Linked DNA regions of Homo sapiens: all the other regions are linked to region 2. Evidence: promoter capture Hi-C in 16 types of primary human blood cells and fetal thymus (Javierre and others, 2016). All regions are on one chromosome and are shown on one strand. The core of a region is centred on a gene start or on the middle of the fragment in contact, and the rest is flanking DNA. Distances in the headings are between cores, read along the strand shown. Region 1 has its middle 71 kb from the start of WDR75. Region 2 holds the start of COL5A2 (collagen type V alpha 2 chain). Region 3 has its middle 100 kb from the start of WDR75.

Region 1 (2,700 bases), core at 34-2,533, 190 kb after region 2:
TCTTTTGCCACAGCCAAGACTTTCTCCTTTCCTAATGAATGATTCGGATTTCTACACCCTACCCATTCTGTAGGTACACAGTAAATCAGTTGAACCATGTACTATATAGTTAACTCGGCCTATTCAGGTGATCATAAAGAAAAAAGGAAAAGCTTGTTTCTTGAGAAGTTCCATCCTTCTAAATTTACTTCCTCACTAATGAACAGAGGTCACCTATCTACTACAATACAGTAAACAGAAGTGATTTCATTTGTGCCATGAGAATGTGTCCTGCTTCAGCTGCTTACAAGCAAATAATAACACTAAATGTTTGTTTTGTCTAGACAACACATTAAATTCAAAACATGGCTTCAAATAAAATAAAACATGAAATATATAAGCATTTGTAACTAACTGGAAGAAGAAAGTTACTGTGACTTACCAAAGATTTAAGTTAGAGCATGTATCACTAATACTGAAAAATCATATTATAAATGTATGTTTTGAACTAGTCTTACCTAATTTTGAAGACTGTCAAGTTTTTTTTATTAATATCACTACCCTCCAACAATCTTAAAGTATATTTTGTCTGACATTAATACAGCTATGCCAAATTTCTTTTAGTTTGCATTTGATTATTATTTTTTATCTTTTTATGCTTAAACTTTCTGTATCCCTATGCCTCAGATATCTATTTTGTATGTAGAATATAGATAATTTCATTTTTGCTTTATTTTTCAATCTGCTAATCTCTATCTTTTAACTGAGGGAGTTTGATACATTCGTTTTCATTGAGATTATTCAAACTCCTGAAAGTTTTTTGAATATCTATATATTCTGAATTTTATATTAATTGTTAACTTTTGTGTGTATTACCTATGAATTTTGATTATTATAGTAGAAGGACATTTGTACTGATAAAATTGAGAGCCAGTATTCTACGATAATGTGACTAAATAAACTCTTGAGTCATTTCTAAGAAAATTACATAATTCCAAAACAAACATTCCAAATATATTTGTAATAGCTTCATGGGCAAAAGATGAGTTTTGCTTTGACTATGTTTTCCAACAATGGTTGGTTGGTTTGTGTTAGTTTTCCGATTGCATGATGAGGTCTAGCAGGTCACACGACTGAACTTCAGTATGCACTCAATTCTTCCTCATGTATTGATTAAAGACCATAAACCTCATGTGTCAAGACACTGTATCAGCTTTACCCATAAATTTATTGGGCAGGTAATAATAACAAAAGTTAATGCATATAGCACATACTGTATGCCAGGCATTGTTCTATGTGCTTTACATTTTTTGACTCATTAATACTCCCAGCAAGTCTGTTATGCTGCCACAATGGACACCAAATGACTCCCTGTTGCATTTAATTTTCTCCGTCATCTCATCTCTACCTCTAATTGTACTTTTTTCTCTCTCCATTGTCTTTTTTCTGGCTTTAGGAATGGGTGGTGTGGTAAAGCTGAAAGAGCAATGAGTTATGAAGTCTAAGAAATGCATTTCAAATCCAATTTCTAGTATCACTTGATGGCTTGGCAACCTTGAACAAGTTCCTATTCCCCTCATCTGCAGAACAACAATAAAAATATCTATTTCATAGAGTCATTATAAGAATAAAATAATGTGTGAAAAGAGGTGTTCAATGTGTTTTATTTCTCTCCTCATCATCACATTAATAGTGTAAAGTCAACAGAATTATATAAACTTGTCATAACAGCAACATAAACTTTTGATATATAATTTCAACAAGTCATTTTCAGAGATGTCATCTCTGGCTGTCACATTATCTAAAATAAAACACACACACACAATCACACTCAACACATAAAGCCACACACAACACGTGACACAGAAAATGTATAACCACATACAATCATACTCAACACCCATACAACATGCACATACAACACATACAACATACATAGATAATAAACAATCTTCTTCTATAAACACATATACTCACATACATAATTTCATAGGCCCAAAACGTATTTTATTTCCTTTATAGGATTTATTCAGTATCTGAAATTATACAATTGACTGACTGACTTATTAAATACCAATGCTCACAGGAACAGAAACATTAATGGAAAGGGAAAGTGACACAGCTAGCTAGTATGTGCTAAAAAAAAGGCTAAGTCTGACAGGATGTGATACATTATGGAAATTTGTCTCCTCCAAATTTCGTGTTGAAATGTAGTCCTCAATGTTGGAGGTGGGGCCTGGTGGGAAGTGTTTGGATCATGGGTGCAGATTCCTCATGAATGGTTTAACACCATCCCCTTGGTGATAAGTGAGTTCTCCCTCGAATAGTTCCTGTGAGTTCTGCTTGTTTAAAAGAGCATGGCACCTCCCCCTTCCCCACATCTCTTGCTTTTGCTATGAGATGTGCCTGCTCCCCCTTTGCCTTCCACCATGATTGTAAGCTTCCTGAGACCTCACCAGGAGCAGATGCTAGTGCCATGCTTCCTGTAAAGCCTACAGAACTGTCAGCCAAATAAACTTCTTTTCTTTATAAATTATCCCGTCAGGTATTCCTTTGTAGCAACGCAAAAACTGACTAACATGGAAAATTTCTACCAAGAAGTGGGGCATTGCTATAAAGATGGTAATGTGGAACTGGCTTTGGAACTGGGTAATAGGCAGAAGTTGGAAGAGTTTTGAGGTCTCAGAAAAAGATAGATAAGGGAAGTTTGGAACTTCTTAG
Region 2 (2,796 bases), core at 273-2,772:
GATTGTTGGATATTCATTTACAAATTCGTATTTTCACTTTTTAAGCTTTTTAGAACTTCTGATCTCTAGATTAATTTTATAAACTTTTTGAAACCAAAAACACACAGAAGCAGATATTTGTTCTAAAAATATAGATATATACATAGTATATATACATATATACCTGTATGTATGTGTCTATATATGAAAGTAATAGAAAAGGTTAATGAATGTCCAAAGTTTTAAAAGCTTGAGTTTGATGTTACATGGTTGAGTTGATGAAAATCTACAGTGGCTTATTTTAAAGGAGTACATGTCTGTATTTGAAATTGCAACCCTCAAGATTAAAGATTTAATAGAGGAATCAATTTAAATATTTTCTTATATACTACAACAGCTATGCATTTTTGCTTAACCATACCATATAACCCAACTGTAACATATGAAAATTGCATAGGAAAAAAATGTGGTCACCAGGCAAGATTTATCTTTAAAAAAAAAAAAAAAAAAAAGCTTGGGTCTAAGGGGTAATGTCCATGCAAATATTCCATGCCAAATAAGATATATACAAGACATGCTGATTTCCTGCCTTCCGCCATCCAACCGGGAACCACCACTGTCCTGTTAATCAAGCCAGTAGGGTGGGAAAATACCACTGTTTAAGAAATCTGGCTTCTATCAGCCTCTGTCATGGAGAAACAAACGAGACTGCCTCCCAGTAAGCAAAAGTGATCACATTTTCACAAATGAAAATGGTAAAAAGAAGTTTAAATTGTTAAAGAGGAAAGAATGAGGAGCCAAAGACAAAGAAAAATCAAAGCTATCAGAGTTGCTGCAGAGGTTTTACTAAACAAAGAATTTTATGAAGCAGCTGAAGTTCAGTACAAAAAGACTCCACCCTACCCAGCTTCTGCCGCGACTTTTCCTTGCTCTGAAAACTCCAGCCCACAGAACAGAGCTCCTCTAACTAAAATGCCTTTAGTGCTCCGTTTTAAGCATTCACTCTTTTCTTATTTTAAACGTCCCACTCTCACACTCAGCCAAAAGGACTTATTGTAGGCTTTCCCAGAAAAATTTAGTAGTGTACTCTCTCCAACGGTGGATCTAGAAGCTCCGGATTTACAAACATCCCAATTGTCTTTCAAGTCGTTTTCCAGGTGCAAATCCGTCAGCCCCCTTCTCAAACTTCAAACCAGAACCTCCTCTTCACGCTCTTCCTGAGGCTTAACATTCCACCTATTTCCCAAACCGTGCAATAAACACTACAAGCAAAGCAAATGGCAAACTCACCATCCTCGTCTTCTTCCTGGGCTTTTATTGAGACAAATTGCCCTAATAAAACAATAAGAATGAGGAGAGGTCTTGCTTCCGCCCAGTTTGCCATCATGTCTAAATATTAGACATGTGGGTTCTCCTGAGAGTGAAAAGTAGATTCTGAGGTTATTGTAGCACCATGAAGTCAGCTGTGGGCTCTTCTTTCAGCACCAGCCCCAGGGCAGCCTCTGCAAACCCCCTTTTTCAGCACCAGCTCCAGCACAGTCTGCGAAAACTTTTTTCAAGCGATGCAGCTTTAAATAGGAAGAATGCTGCCTCCACTTCTTTTCCTGCCCCTTTTCAGCTTGTTCAGGCTCATAACCATCCAGTGTCTGCCAAGCAACGGTCTGATTGATGGTAAACAACCAAATCAGAACACGCGTCTCTGTGCCTGAACTTTCCCTATTTCATTTAACTTTTAAGCATAGATGGGGCTTAATAACAGAAACAAACATTTGTTTCTCTTTTCTTTTATTTTTTAAGAAAGGCTGTTAGAAGAAAAGGGTTCTATTTTCCCCTCCCTAACCCTTCCCCCCAGACACACACCCTTTAACTTTTCCCCTATAAGCTGAAAAAGACATTCCGAAGGAAATCCAGCCTTTTACCCTAGTTTTTTTACATTTAGATAATTCAAGACTCTCTTCTCCACCTTAAATCTTTAAACAATCACATTTTAACCCTTTCTTTTGACTGAATAGGGAGTATTCTTATCCCCTTCTCAGATTCGGTTTCTTTTCCCATACTCTGGAAGGAGATTATTAGAATGTTGCCCAGGTAAAGTCCAGGTTAGAAAACCATTTTGGATAAATGAATTTGTGATACATTGTAATTTGAATTAAGAAAGCATGTCCTTTCCTAATTTCTCCACATCTCTTGTTAAGGGGCCACATCTTCAGGTTCCTCTTGTCCCAGAGAGTTTTACCATGTTGAAAAATAGTCTACTAAGCAGTGCAGAGGAATGGGAAGTACTCTACCTTTGGATGAAAAAAGGCTTGCTTCTGCCTTTTGTGAGTGGTTCTGCCACTCAATAATTTTGTAAATGTGCATATAGTCCTTTATCTCTGTGCACTCCAATTTTCTCATTTGAGAAAAGGGCTTTACCCTGACCAGTGTACAGGGTTTAGTGACACTAAAATGAGTAATGTATTATTAATGAAGCTCCAAATTGCAAAGAGCTACATAAAAGCAGATGGTGGTATTATTAGCTTTAAGCCAGCTTTGCAGGGAATATGATAGCCCCAGTTGAACATGCATTTTAAGGAAAATTATCGATGAACTTTTGTGCCACCCTCACACTTGCCAAGATCTTAATGACCTCAGAGAGTTCTATACAATCTAATGTATTTGCCACCTTGAGTCTCCCTAGAATCAGGATGGATGTTCTATACAATACAAGTGAGTCAATTGTTTATAATTATTGGGCAACAGGTGCCTTGCACTGTGCTAAGCACTGGGCAGAAAGGATGACATAAAAGAAATAAAAGACATACCCATCACCTTCAA
Region 3 (2,784 bases), core at 245-2,744, 160 kb after region 2:
GGTGAGCTCTTTTTAAGGTCTACATAAGGGCACATAAACCCATCACAAAATAAAATATATAACTAATTTTAGTACTCAAAATCTCACACATCCACCTTTTCCACAATAGTCCCTGGGCCTAAGGGGATTGAATAGTTTTCATTTCTGGCCCTGTGTCTCACAAAAGCAGCTCATTTTGATTGTCACCTCTCCTGGGTTTCTGAAGTTGAGGTTTTGACTGATGTCAGTGTTCAAGGTTTAGCAGGTGTCAGTGCCATTTGCAGACCCAGGAGTCAAAACCTGGTAACTTAGCAGCACAAGGATTAATTAATAGGATGTTTTCCAAAGACGTTTAAAGCCTCAAAACATTTGATCAAAACAGAATTACAGGTCATTGTAAAATAATAATTATTCATTTAACCAAAGTTAAAAAGACTTCCAAAACAATATAAAAATAAAGTTACAATATACGAGCACTCTACCTATAATATGCAGATAGACTACTTTGGTGTAAAATAAGTTTCTATCTTCAATATAGATGATCAAGTATAGTATATGCATTTAAGATAAGAACAGAAGCCAAAGCTTAATGAAATGTTTACAGACATATATAAGAACATCTAGAAATTTGTGGTTCAGTTTACTAATACTGCAGAAAGTCCCATAATTCTAACATGACTCTAGATGTCATGTAGAGTGACTAACATGTAGAGTCACTAACATGACTCTAACATGTCACAAATTAAAACACTGTCATTTGGTGTCTAGTAGTTGCCACCTGCTGCACTTCAAACCACTGTATTAAAGTGGTTAGGTTACTACTTCCATATGTCTAATTGCTGGCATTCTAGTGACGCAATTGTGACCAAAAGCATCAAAAATATGACAAGTCCTGTGACAAACTTATCAATGTGCAACAGTTATCATTTTTTCCATCATTAAAAAAATGGTAAAAGCAAATATCAGTTTTGGAAATTCAGTATGAAGATAAATAATCTCCTTCCACTTAAATACTATATAACAAAACAGGGACAAACTAAGAACAAGCACACAATAATTTGTTTTCAGCTATTTAAAAGAGTATCATCACTTCCAGGGCTGGTTTCTAGTGCAGCACTAACAAGTGATTAGGTGACATTCACCACTAGAATCATCAAACCAGGACATCACTTATACATATTTTGTTTTTGTTTTCAACTACACACACTAACAGTGATAAAAACCTTGAGATTAAAAATCACTAGAAAGTCTCATATTTTTAATTACTACTTAATCAAAGTGAGTATCACTTGATTTTAATAATGTTACTAAACACAACTAAAATAATTTGAGTGAAATTTGTTAATATAATTTCCTTAAGAACAAGGCCAATCTTTCCTAAACATTAAAACTTTGTATCCGTATCACAGTCTTTCCGTATTATCTAAAGAAAAAGATCTGAAACTAACTCAAATTATTGATTGAACTGAACTACCTGAAATAAGCACCATTTAAACAATTTTATTCTCAGCTACTTTCTTAAATAACAAAATAATGTACTATTTCTGTTTAGAATTTATAAAAATAAGTCAAGTCTTTTAATTTTGGCCAGAAAACTTAAACTCTTAAAGCTCTCTAGATCATTATAGGTAAGCAAAACCAATTCAGTTTTAAATGGCTAGTGTGCTCTTTTTTTTTTTTTTGGAGACTTGACAAAGGTAGCTTAGGAATTTTAGATAAATAGAACAAATGATGAACTGTTAGAAATGCACAGGAAACAAAATGACTACTATATATATAGAACCAAATACAAGCCTTCTGTTAGAAACTAAAAATACCAATAATTTTATATATATAATTTATATATTTATTTATTTGCTATTTGTTATATATTTATTTGCTATCTGTTCTCCTTTGGGTTTTACATATATATGTATAGATATGCTTATATATTTATGCTTCTATTTATTTATATATGCATATAATATATATGTATATATACATATATATAAACCCAAAAAAGTACAAATAGCAAATAAATGAAAAATGAAAGCAAAAACAAACAAAAAACCAACCCCAAATTTTTTTCTATTCAGTTTACCTTAGAGGCTACAGTGTTACAGAGAGCTAAAACACACACACACACACACACACACACACACACACACACACAATAAATATGTTGTTTTTGATACACAAATTAATGTCTTTACGTCCACCAATACCACTATACATTTTGTGTATTTGAGAAATTTACTTTAGGCACTTGGCAAGTAAGGACTTTAGTGCTAGTACCACCAATGCAGAATAGCAAACACAGTGTGAAATCAACCAACAGAAGCATTTATGTGAAAATTGACTCCCTGCTAAATCTAGCTTCATGCTTAACTATATTTAAAAAAAGATTTGCCAAAATGCCAATGTATTTCTTTACAATATTTCTTATCTTACCTTTATCAAGACTAAGAAGCTTTAACTATGAGCAATGTTAATTAGCCTAATTTCTCCAATTTCCTATCAGGTTTTTACTTTTTCATCTTTCTATTTTCTCTGTATGTGCCTGAAGACAGACATACACAGAAACAGGAGAAAAACTACATATGACTTACACAGACAATGTATGACATGCTTGAATTTTCTGCTTGGTCTTAAATTCTCTCGTGTTAAAAAAAACAGTCATTTTATTTTAGGACAAAAATTTACCATAGTCCATAATTTGAATCAACCTTTAGATAAATTCTGAATTAGACAAAATTATTCTTTTTTCATAAGGACAGAAATTCTCTGGCACATTTTATATACAGAATTATATGTTAACTACAGTTC

The links. Contacts are between HindIII fragments. The CHiCAGO score rates a contact against its expected background, and 5 or more counts as called.
Region 1: a fragment that was not itself captured here is called in contact with the fragment with the promoter of COL5A2 in region 2 in 1 of 17 cell types (activated CD4 T cells); the score reaches 5.6 in activated CD4 T cells.
Region 3: a contact is called between a fragment that was not itself captured here and the fragment with the promoter of COL5A2 in region 2, in 4 of 17 cell types (total CD8 T cells, naive CD8 T cells, activated CD4 T cells and 1 more). The highest score is 5.8, in total CD8 T cells.

The regions. Positions count from the first base shown.
Region 1 is chr2:189,368,750-189,371,449 of GRCh38, forward strand. It overlaps a transcript of COL5A2 not described here. Among named protein-coding and RNA genes, the nearest start is that of WDR75, 71 kb to the right of the region's middle. The HindIII fragment of the contact is 2,267 bases long and covers 151-2,417 here.
Region 2 is chr2:189,178,239-189,181,034 of GRCh38, forward strand. COL5A2 (collagen type V alpha 2 chain) reads right to left here and starts at 1,523. Exons shown (of 54, transcript NM_000393.5): 1 at 1,270-1,523. The coding sequence starts at 1,366. The HindIII fragment of the contact is 9,698 bases long and covers 491-2,796 here.
Region 3 is chr2:189,340,551-189,343,334 of GRCh38, forward strand. It overlaps a transcript of COL5A2 not described here. Among named protein-coding and RNA genes, the nearest start is that of WDR75, 100 kb to the right of the region's middle. The HindIII fragment of the contact is 1,864 bases long and covers 563-2,426 here.